2 separate regions of the Homo sapiens genome follow, and region 2 is linked to region 1. The links are contacts of gene promoters, found by promoter capture Hi-C in blood cells and fetal thymus (Javierre and others, 2016). All regions are on one chromosome and are shown on one strand. Each heading gives the region's core, a stretch centred on a gene start or on the middle of the fragment in contact. The rest is flanking DNA. Distances are from core to core; before and after follow the strand shown.

Region 1 (5,203 bases), core at 1,773-4,272:
GTGGCTCATGCCTGTAATCCCAGCACTTTGGGAGGCCCAGGTGGTGGATCTCCTGAGGTCAGGAGTTCAAGACCAGCCTGGCCAACATGGTGAAACCCCATCTCTACTAAAAATGCAAAATTAGCTGGGCATGGTGGCATGTGCCTGTAATCGCAACTACTAGGGGTGCTGAGGCAGGAGGATCGCTTGAACCCGGGAAACGGAGGTTGCAGTGAGCCGAGATCATGCCATTGCACTTCTGCCTGGGCAACAGAGCAAGATACCGTCTCAAAAAAAAAAGTTAGAAGAGAAATGGAAGGTTCTCTCTTTTCCTCAGCTTCAGTATACTAAAACCCAGAAGCATAGGACATAAGTTTTTTCCATGGGATACTTTAGTTATCACCTTGGGTGAAAACATGGTACTAGGATTTGTCCTTCAAGTCAGGTTAATGTAACAGAGGTAGCAGTGACTTATGGTTAGATTTGTGCCTTAACTGTGCACTTCCCAATATTTGCTATAAAATGGGGGCAGGGGGGTGATAATAATATCTAATACATGAAGCCTGTAGGACAGTGCTCTGTGTTTGTGTTTTGACTGCAACTCAAAGAAAGCAATATATTTTTAGATGAAGTATATACATGTATATATATATAACTTAAAAGTTTCATAAAGCAGTACTTACCCTTACTATGTTCCATGTGTTCTAATATTTTCTCTTACTTCATTTTGAGATAATGCTAGGCATGACCCATTTATTTTAAGACACACTAATTGGTCAAAAAACAATTTGAAAACCACTGCTATAGGAGAACACGAGGAAATATATTTTATAAACTGTAAAGCACTACTAAGACGTGAGCAGCGGCTGCTGCATATCCAGGTCAACCTTTATGGGCCTGAAGACAACCTCTCCTTCGTTTGGGCACTGCTAGGAGTCAAATCTACCTAGACTTTTGGTAAGGAAGATGGTACTCATGCTCATTGTCATTGAGACAATTATCTAATGCTTAGAAGTCAAGACTAGAAAGCAAGGCATTAACCATATCAGCACCCAAACAAGGGAAGACAAGTTACAAGAAAGCCAAATAAAACAGCAAACATTTGTTTAGTGCTTTATGGTTAACATATATGATCTCTTTTAATCCTTACAATCCTAGGGAAAAAGTGAAGCTCAAGGAGGTTGACACCTGCCCAAGACTAGACAGTAAGTGGCAGAGCCAGGTCATCTGATCCTAAATCCCGCACTCCTTCCACTATGATAAAATACCAGGAAAGAAAAGTGATCAGGATATGAGGCACATTCTGATCCATCAAAGATGCTTATATGCTTTGCCTTTCTCTAGAAGGAAAACGGACCCCACTGAAGGTAGAGATGCAATCCCAGACTTTCAGAGGGGGGGTGTGGCCAATTGCTATCAGTAGTTTAGGACTCACATCTGGCATTTCTGTCTACCAATACATCTATTTTGACACTGCTTGTGCTGAGGTCCCAAATGTCTATTATCTCCAAGTACTGTGGCTTTCTATTCCTATCTGTACCTGTCCCAGGGAATTGGTCAAGGACTCACATTAGGGAGAAATGAAGTACTGGGTATCTGTTACTCACGTCCCTTACACTTAGGTAGACTGCCAGTATTAGCAGTAGTGGTCCGCTTCCAGTGACCGTCATATTATCTGTTCAGCTTCCTCTGGGGAAGCCAATCTGCCCCAATCTTCATGGTTTTGTGTCTCCTTTTTTACCCATATGACCATCTCTCTCCACCGTGTCTCCCTCATCAAATAAAGAGAAGTTTAGCAACTAAGTACCTGAGGAGGTGGGAAAGGAATGCTACTCATTCCTCAGCTCTCCTAGTTACCTTTCCACTCCCTTCATCCCCCCACATTCCCTCATTTCTCTCACCTGGTACTCCTGCACCACCTCCTCCAAAGGCAGCACGCTGTGCTGTTTGTGGCTCCTGGATTCTCGGCACACCACACAGATGGCCTCTTTGTCCACCTCACAGAAGAGTTTCAGGGCTTCCTGGTGTTTAAAGCACATGCCCTGATCATTACTCCGGTTTCCCCGATAAGGAGTGGGGCACATCTGGCGAATTATCTGGACCATGTTGGCCAGCTGCAAGTTGGGACGAAAGCTGCGACGTGTAAAGCTCTTTCGGCACTGGGGGCAGGTGAACTGCCCTGGAAGGGGCAAGGAAGGAGGCGGGTGGATGTCAGGATACAGCTCTTCATCTTCGTCCTCATCGTATGCTTCCAGTATTTCTTCTTCTCGGTAGACATCAATTCTCAGGTCAGGTCTCAAGCCTCCTAGGTAATAGTCCTGATCTTCCTCTTCTTCTTCTTCCTCCTCGTCCCACATATAGTCTACGTTGTCCCAATTAGTTATACCACTGTCACCGAGCCAGAGTTCATCGTCATCTTGGTCTTGGAACAACTCTTCGTCAGCATTCCCCCGATACAACACCTCTCGAATGGAGCCGTCCCATCCATCCATGGCCCCCACCGCTTCCTCGTCCTCCTCCTCCTCCCATTCATCTTCCTCCTCGTTCTGGTCCTCCTCGTCCTCCTTACTCCACAGCTGGGTCACACACCCTCGGCAGAAGTTGTGCCCACAGCTGATGGACACGGGGTCCTTGAAGTAATCCAAGCAGATGGCACACACCGCTTCCTCCTGAAGGGTCTGCATGGGGCTGGGAGTAGTGGCATAACCAGCCATCTTAATGCCCGCCGGCAGGTGTAGATACGTCAGCTTGGAGCTGAGGAGCGGGGACGCGCCTGCAGGCCTGCCTCCAAACTACTCTGGTGACCCGAGGCTGTCCTCAACCTTGCTCTTCTTCCTCGGGGCCGCAGGGGAGCTTTGACCCCCTCTCTCAGGGTGCGAACGCCCAGATCCAGACTCACAGCCTCTCTCTGGGATCGGTGGGGACAGAGCAGGCTGCAGCCCCCAGCTGCTCGGTCCTGTCACGTCTCTCGCTACCCTCAGGGTGTGCCCTACACTGCGGCGTCCGCCTCAGATGCAGCCGCTGGCTACCCTGCCCGAGGCGACGCAAAATGACGTCTCGCTCCTGCACACGCTCTGGAGAGACGCTCTAGGCCGGCGGAGGACCACGTCTCTATGGTGTGCCGGGGGCCGCGCGGGCCGGGAGTTGGGTGGGCTGGGGGACAGGCGCGCCCGCGCCGCCCGCTCCAGCTGGGCTAGTGCTGCACATTCCGGCCAGCCCCTCCTCAAGACCCCATTCCCAAGCCCCTTCTCAGCTCCCTCGGGCCGGCAGAGCGGCTCTGATCAGGTCAGCGGCGGACGCCGGGAAGAGGCCCGGCTTGGGAGAGGTGGTTTGGTGGGTTGGCTGGTTCTAGATGGTGGGGGGGTCAACACTTGAGGGGGACTGGGTCTCCGAGCCGTTGTCCAGCCTGAGCCGGAGCCCCAGGAAGGTTAGAGGGAAGGGGGATAAATCTCTCCGGAAGCCCCGCCCGGGCCGGGGCCGAGTTGGTCCGCGGCGGTGGGGAAGCCTGGGACACCACCCTGGTGCTGTCGCCCGTCCCGCCGTCCGCGCTTGGGGTGCCTTTGTGGGGATCCGGGCGCCGCACAGCTGGGAGGGCCTGCCGCCCGGGAGGCTCGGATCCGGGGCGCCCAGTGCCCCCCGCTGCCTTCCGTGAGCCGTCGGGCCCCAGCTCCACGTAGGCCTCAGACCCAGCCCTGTTTCTGCTTGCGGGGCCGCGGCTGCGCAGTATTGCGGCGTCTGCCAGCAAAGCTGCGCCCCGGTCGTGGGTCCCCTGAGGGGGCCGGGGCTCAAGTTCCCTTCGGTGCTGCCGCCTGCGTCGGGCCAGGGTTCCGAGTTCCAGCCCTGAGCTCTGTGAGCTCGGCCGGGAGGGGGCTGGATTTGGGACCACACTTCCTCACCGCCGTGGTTTAGACTTAGTTTGAGAGCGGCTGGCCCCTCCTTCCTGTCCCGGTGTCCTCCGCTGTCTGTTATGCCCTTCACTCCTCCCTGGGGAGGGAGGGCTGGGGGCGCTGTCTGGGTCTGTTTTCCACCCCAGCGGGGCCCTAGGGCAGTGTCATTTAGACTCCACTCTGTCACCTTTCCTGGAGAGGGGACCTGATCCAGGGCTGAGAGGTTTTTTTTTTTTTTTTTTTTTTTGAGATGGAGTCTGGCTGTTGCCCAGGATGCAGTGCAGTGGCGCGATCTCGGCTCACTGCAAGCTCCGCCTCCCAGGTTCACGCCACTCTCCTGCCTCAGCCTCCCGAGTAGCTGGGACTACAGGCGCCCGCCACCACGCCCGGCTAATTTTTTTTTTTTTGTATTTTTAGTAGAAACGGGGTTTCACCCTGTTAGCCAGGATGGTCTCGATTTCCTGACCTCGTGATCCGCCCACCTCGGCCTCCCAAAGTGCGGGCTGAGAGATCTTACAGTGGGAGGGGGAATCAGGCCCTGGGGAAAGGCTTCTCAGGGGTTGTCTCCTTCTGTCTTCTGTCTCTGCAGGTAGGGATAGAACCAGGTCAGGCCTGGATTTGTAGTCCCAGAGAACAGAGGATGGAGATGGGGGCTGGACGCAGCTCAGAGGGGCTGGTGCTCATGGGCTCTGTGTATGCCTTCTCCTGTGGCCTGGTTCTGTGTACAGATGTTCTACCCCAGTGCTGAGGGCCAAGACACCCTCTTGGCCTTGGTGCTGGGGGCATCCTGGGGCAAGGAGTGTAGGCAGAACTCCTCAACATTGGAGATTTGGGGAAATTGTGTCCCCTCCCTTTTAGACTCCTGTAGCCCCCTGCAGTGGCACGATCTGGGCCCACAGCAATCTCCACCTCCTGGGCTCAAGCAGTCCTCCCACTTCAGCTTCTGGAATAGCTGGGAACACAGGCATGCACCACCACTCCAGGCTAATTTCTTTATTTTTTTATAGAGACAGGGTTTCGTCATGTTGCCCAGGCTAAAGTGCCGTGGCTATTTATAGTCACGATTATTGCACCCTACCACCTCAAACTCCTGGACTCAAGTGATCCTCCCGCCTCAGCCTGTGGAGTAGCTGGGACTACAGGCATGCACCACTATGCCTGATTTACCCATTCTCTTTTAGATTTTTTTTTTTTTTGAGAGAGGGTCTTGCTCTGTTGCCCAGGCCAAATGCAGTGGTATGATCATGGCTCATTGCACCCTTGACCCCTGGGCTCAAGTGATCATCCTGCCTCAGCCTCCCAAGTAGCTGGGACTACAGGTGTGCATTACCACATCT
Region 2 (5,203 bases), core at 1,073-3,572, 480 kb before region 1:
AGTGATTAAGGAGAATTTCCAAGACAAAACCCCCATTCAGCTACTTACCTAGGAATGAGACCTGGCTAAAGACTGTGCTCTACTGAGGGAGAAGACCACCCCTCATATTGTCTCATGCCCAATTTCTGCCTCCAAAGAAAGAAGAAGTAAAAATGAAAAGGCAGAAATGAAATCCACAAGCAGACAGCCCGGCGCCACACCCCGGGCCTGGTAGTTAAAGATCGAGCCCCGGCCTACTCGATTATGTTATCTGTAGATTCCAGACATTGTATGGAAAAGCACTGTGAAAACCCTTGTCCTGTTCTGTTCCAATCTGATTACCGGTGCATGCAGCCCCCAGTCGTGTACCCGCTGGTTGCACAATCGATCACGACCCTCTCACGTGGACCCCCTTAGAGTTGTGAGCCCTTAAAAGGGACAAGAATTGCTCACTAGGGGAGCTCAGCTCTTCAGACAGGAGTCTTGCCAATGCTCCTGGCTGAATAAACCCCTTCCTTCTTTAACTCGGTGTCTGAGGAGTTTTGTCTGCGGCTGGTCCTGCTACACTACTATCCTAGAAGTAGGAAAAAACTCAAACTTGCTTTCCCTGTTGGAAGTGGGCTGAAATTCCACAAAGGAGTTGCCTGCACCCCATTATCATGGAAGCAGGAAAACTCTCCCTCCTTGTTGAAAGTGAATAAAACTCCAGAAAAAGAGTTTCACAGCAGAATAATCCTTAAACCTCAACCAGATTTTGGAAGATCAGGGATTCTCTGGAGACAGGAGCTCCCAGGGCTCAGCAAATTGTCCAACTGATTTGAGCAATAAAGGTAGCTCAAGCTGGCACCAAGTACCCGTAGGAGATTTGCCAAAGGTCAGGGGTAGCTCCACTCAGAATCCCTTCATGGTTACCATGTAAACCAAACAGTATCTGAGACAGAGCTCAGTCAATTTAGAAGTTTATTTTGCCAATGTTAAGGACATGCACCCAGGACCCAAGTCTGTGCCTTTCTCCAAAGATGATTTTGAGGGCTTCAATATTTAAAGGAAAAAGGGCAGGTATTGCAGAAAGAGGAAGACATTTTTAAAAGGTGTGGGTAGATAAAAGGCAAGTGGTTGCCTTCTTTTGAGCCTTTGATCAGCCGTCCACATGTAAGGGAGGCAAAGGAATAGTCAGCTAGCTGGGGTGAATCTGCACTTTCACATAAGATAAAGTAGGGCAGAGGAAGCAATCACATATGCATTTGTCTCAGGTGAGCAAAGAAATGGCTGAGTTCTTTCCTTTGTCCCATCACTGCGAAGATAGACTATCAATTTACATTGTCAGGGTGGAATTCAACAGAACACTTTTAGGGTAAAGATCTTGCCCACAAGGGCAAATTGTGAGGGAGGCATGTAGCTTTTTTATTTGTGAATGGAAGGCAGGTTTGTGTGACACAGTTCCCAGCTTGATCTGTCCCTTCGGCTTAGTGATTTTGAGGTCCCAAGTTGTATTTTCTCTTCACAATATGTGTACGTATATTGGTTTATGTATTGGTTTTCAACCCAGGGTTCCTGGCTCATAATTCCCACAGCCCTTGTTACAGTCTTTTGTTACAGTGTTGGGTGAGTCAGGCCTCAGGGGCAGGACTCTGACCTTCCACTGCCCTGAGGCAGGACTCAAGGCCCTCCCATGAGAGGGTCCCATCCTATACCCTGGGGGAAGGAATGCTAAAGTCATGAAGCTTCCATAAAAAACCAAGGGGACTGGGCCGAACACGTGGAGGCCGACAGGAGGGTGAAGAACTCGTCCACATGCCGGGAGGGTGGGGCACCCCAGCTCCACGGCAACAGAAGCTCCTGTGCTTCCAGGCCTCACCCTATGTACCTCTTCGTCTGGCTAATTATCCATATCCTTTAAAATATCCTTCTTAGTAAACTGATTCTCTGTGAGCAACTCCCCCAGATTAATCAAACTCAAAGAGGGGGTTGTGGGAACCCCAACTTGAACCCAGTTGGTCAGAAGTTCTGGAGGCCCCAACATTCGATTGGTGGGGTGGGGCAAGGATGAGTCTTGGGGATGGAGCCCTCAACCTGTGGGATCTGGCACTATCTCCAGGTAGACAGGGTTGGAACTGATTGGAGGACACCTGGCTGACGTCCACCGCTTGGGAGTGGGGAGAGGTCCCCACACGTTTGGTCACAGAAGTCTTCTTCTGTGTAGATGATTGTTGCAGTGTGAGAGCGGAGGGAAAACATGGTTTCAGGAGAGTCTTCCCTCACACTATGTGATTGGAGCAAAAGGACAAGAAAGATGAACTGAAGGACAAAGGAGAATTTAGGGAGAATCAGGGGCATCGGTTCAGCTGAGGGAGGGGCGTTGGAACCACAGCTGCATGCTGTCTAACTGGGGTGGAGAACTGCTAGGGCTTGGCCTGGAGCCAGGCGGGCATCAGGGCAGGCTCCAATTCAAGGGAGCAATATGACAAGGACAGGGAAGTCACACTTGATATTTCAGGTGAGGCCTCACCCAAGATTTTGATTTTTTTTTTTTGAGAGGAGTCTCGCACTGTCTCCCAGGCTGGAGTGCAGCGGTGTGATCTCGGCTCACTGCAAGCTCCGCCTCCCGGGTTCACCCATTCTCCTGCCTCAGCCCCCCGAGTAGCTGGGACTACAGGCGCCCTTCACCACGACCAGCTAATTTTTTGTATTTTTAGTAGAGACGGGGTTTCACCGTGTTAGCCAGGATGGTCTCGATCTCCTGACCTCGTGATCCACCCACCTCAGCCTCCCAAAGTGCTGGGATTACAGGCGAGAGCCACCGCACCCGGCCAGATTTTGATTTTTAAAAACCCAGGTATGAGGCCATCAGGCTCTGTTCTGCAGTTTCAGAACCAACTGGCTTGATTCATTCATAAGGAGGCCGAGGACTCCCAGCTGTCAGTAGAGGGCAGCCGTGCCCAATGAAGACCAAGTTCAGGTCAGAAGCTTGCTCAGCAAGCCAAGAACCAAAGATAGTTAATCTGGGCAGGGCGGTTATGTATGAATTTTATTTTCCTTTTATTTTTCAATGTTTTTAGGTAGTTACACGATAAGCACATATTACTTATATACGAAAAAAGTTATTTAAAAAACAATATTCATTCTTTACCTTTCTATCAAGTGGTACAGAAAATTATACGGTATATATTTGCCGTGTGGCAAAATATTCCTCGTTGGATCATGTCAGTGGAAAGAGTATGGTTCTTCTTTGTATTAGTCTTTCAACTTCCCTGTGAGTTTGAATATTTTCATAATAAAAACTTGAAAAACAGAATATAAAATTGAAAAAAAGTTTTGGAAGGAAAAAATATTCCCATCCTTTAATTCAAGAACATCTACGTAAATAATAGAACCAGTCTCCTAGATGACACTGCTCCCCACCCTTGGATGCTGATGAGTAAATGTTTTAAAATTCTATTCTCAAAATATTTGTTCAAACATTCCATTCTGGTCACATAAAATCTTCCACCGTTTCAAGGACAGAACACAGTATCCGAGAGTTCTGGTTTCTACTGTTGCTCAGCAAACTCCCGCAGAACTCAGCAGCTTAAAATACCCGTTTCACATTGCCCACCATTTGTGAGTCAGAAATTCAGGCAGCCCTCGGCTGGGCAGTAGTTGCTTAGGGCATCCCATGTGGTTGTGTTAGATGCTGGCCAGGGATGTCCTCACGGCCCCTGTGGGTGACGGTGGCCATGGGTGACGGTGGCCGTGGGCCACTCCCCAGAACCCTCCAGCAAGGGGCTCAGGGTAGTCAGATGTCTTCCATGAACTCCCTGGAGCTCAAGGCCCCAAGTGTGCCTGTTCTAGCAAGAACCAGGAAGAGGCTGTCTCCCTGCCATGACCTAATCTAGCAGCCACACAGCCCCATTCCGCTGCCAGCGTCCTGCAGGCCCCTCCTCAGGGAAGGCCCTCGGTGAAGAGTGAGGCCTGATCGCCGCTCACCTACTCCTGATCCTGAAAGGTTTTGCCCTTTTCCTAAATAGAAACTCTGAAAAGTAATCAAACAGTATTTCCAAAGGAGGCTTTTGGCAGGCTTGCCTCATTGCCCTTGCAGGGAAGGCTGCCTGTCTCTAGCCATCTTCCTCTTCTTACAGCTGTGCTGAGACGTTTTTGGCTGGGGCAGGGCTGCTGCACTGAGGGTGCATCCCACCTCCTGCAGGGAAGGCAGCCAGACCACATTCCAGTGAGTGGAACGTGAGGGAAGGCTGTCTGCCCACTGCTTTTGTTCCATAAAGAATGAGGCTTGCCCTCCCTTCCCCTCTCCTGCTTCCTGGTAGCTGAACCAGGGCAGCATTTGCTGTGAGCTGGGAGCCATGTGTTGAAGACGGCGGAACAACAAAAGTGAAGACAAAAAAGAAAACTGCATCACTGGCATGTGCCCTTGTCAGTCAGCACTTCCGGGGCTGTGTGTGGCCTTCAGGAATTTCAGTTTTCATGCATGACCCTGAGAAGACTCAGCCCCCTGCCACAGTAGGACAGGTTTCTCAAACAACCCACTAGGGTTAGGGGCCCGCAGGTTTCATTCTGCCCCTCTCCAGGTCAGGGTTCCTAATGCACTCCCCCCAAAGCTCCCCATCACCCTGCCCTCTCCAAATCCTCGTCACTGTCACAAGCTTGGTCTTCCAGGCACCGTGTATGGCCGTGGTCCCTGTAGTCGCCCATACAATCACTCCCTTCTTAGTAACAGGAATCTTAATTTGATTCAGCTTCAGAAATACTTTTTCCAGCCTCTTTTGCTGACAGGGGTGCCTGTGTGATCCAGTTCTACCCAGGGAATTGTGACCCAGCGCTCTGTGAGCTTCCAAGAGAGGAGGAGGCAGCTGCCATCCACCCTTTACCTTCTTCCTTCCTCCTTCTTCCTAAAACGTGTGCTGGCTGGAGCTCCCGCAGCCAAGGAATGAGACCTGACCTCGTGCTAAGAAGAGTGAGACTGAGACCTGAGAAGGAGCCTGGGCCCTGACGGTGGAGGAACCCCCACACCAGCCTGCACCATCGACCTCTCATTTCCGTCCGGCGCTGGGATCCAGGCTTCCTGCTCTGCAACTGAATCCATTCTGACACACTGTCTTACAGTTCTGGTATAAAGGGTCAGACTTCAAGTTAGCCAAGGGAGGCAGTGGGGGAAAGTAACAGCCTTGGCACTACCCGGCCCCCTTTCTATCAACTGCCCCCGCTCTGCCCGCTCCAGACACATGTGGAG

What was found. Contacts are between HindIII fragments. The CHiCAGO score rates a contact against its expected background, and 5 or more counts as called.
Region 2: a fragment that was not itself captured here is called in contact with the fragment with the promoter of TRIM52 in region 1 in 2 of 17 cell types (naive B cells and total B cells); the score reaches 7.0 in naive B cells.

Annotation. Positions count from the first base shown.
Region 1 is chr5:181,258,121-181,263,323 of GRCh38, forward strand. TRIM52 (tripartite motif containing 52) reads right to left here and starts at 3,023. Exons shown (of 2, transcript NM_001346048.2): 1 at 1,881-3,023. The coding sequence starts at 2,693. It overlaps TRIM52-AS1 (TRIM52 antisense RNA 1), which reads left to right and starts at 3,092. Exons shown (of 3, transcript NR_102762.1): 1 at 3,092-3,264. RefSeq lists enhancers at 2,724-2,773, 2,954-3,003 and silencers at 3,144-3,293, 3,404-3,653. The HindIII fragment of the contact is 14,499 bases long and covers 1-5,203 here.
Region 2 is chr5:180,781,788-180,786,990 of GRCh38, forward strand. It overlaps MGAT1 (alpha-1,3-mannosyl-glycoprotein 2-beta-N-acetylglucosaminyltransferase), which reads right to left. Exons shown (of 2, transcript NM_002406.4): 2 at 2,993-5,203. Among named protein-coding and RNA genes, the nearest start is that of MGAT1, 18 kb to the right of the region's middle. RefSeq lists enhancers at 3,248-4,159, 4,160-5,070. The HindIII fragment of the contact is 1,243 bases long and covers 1,702-2,944 here.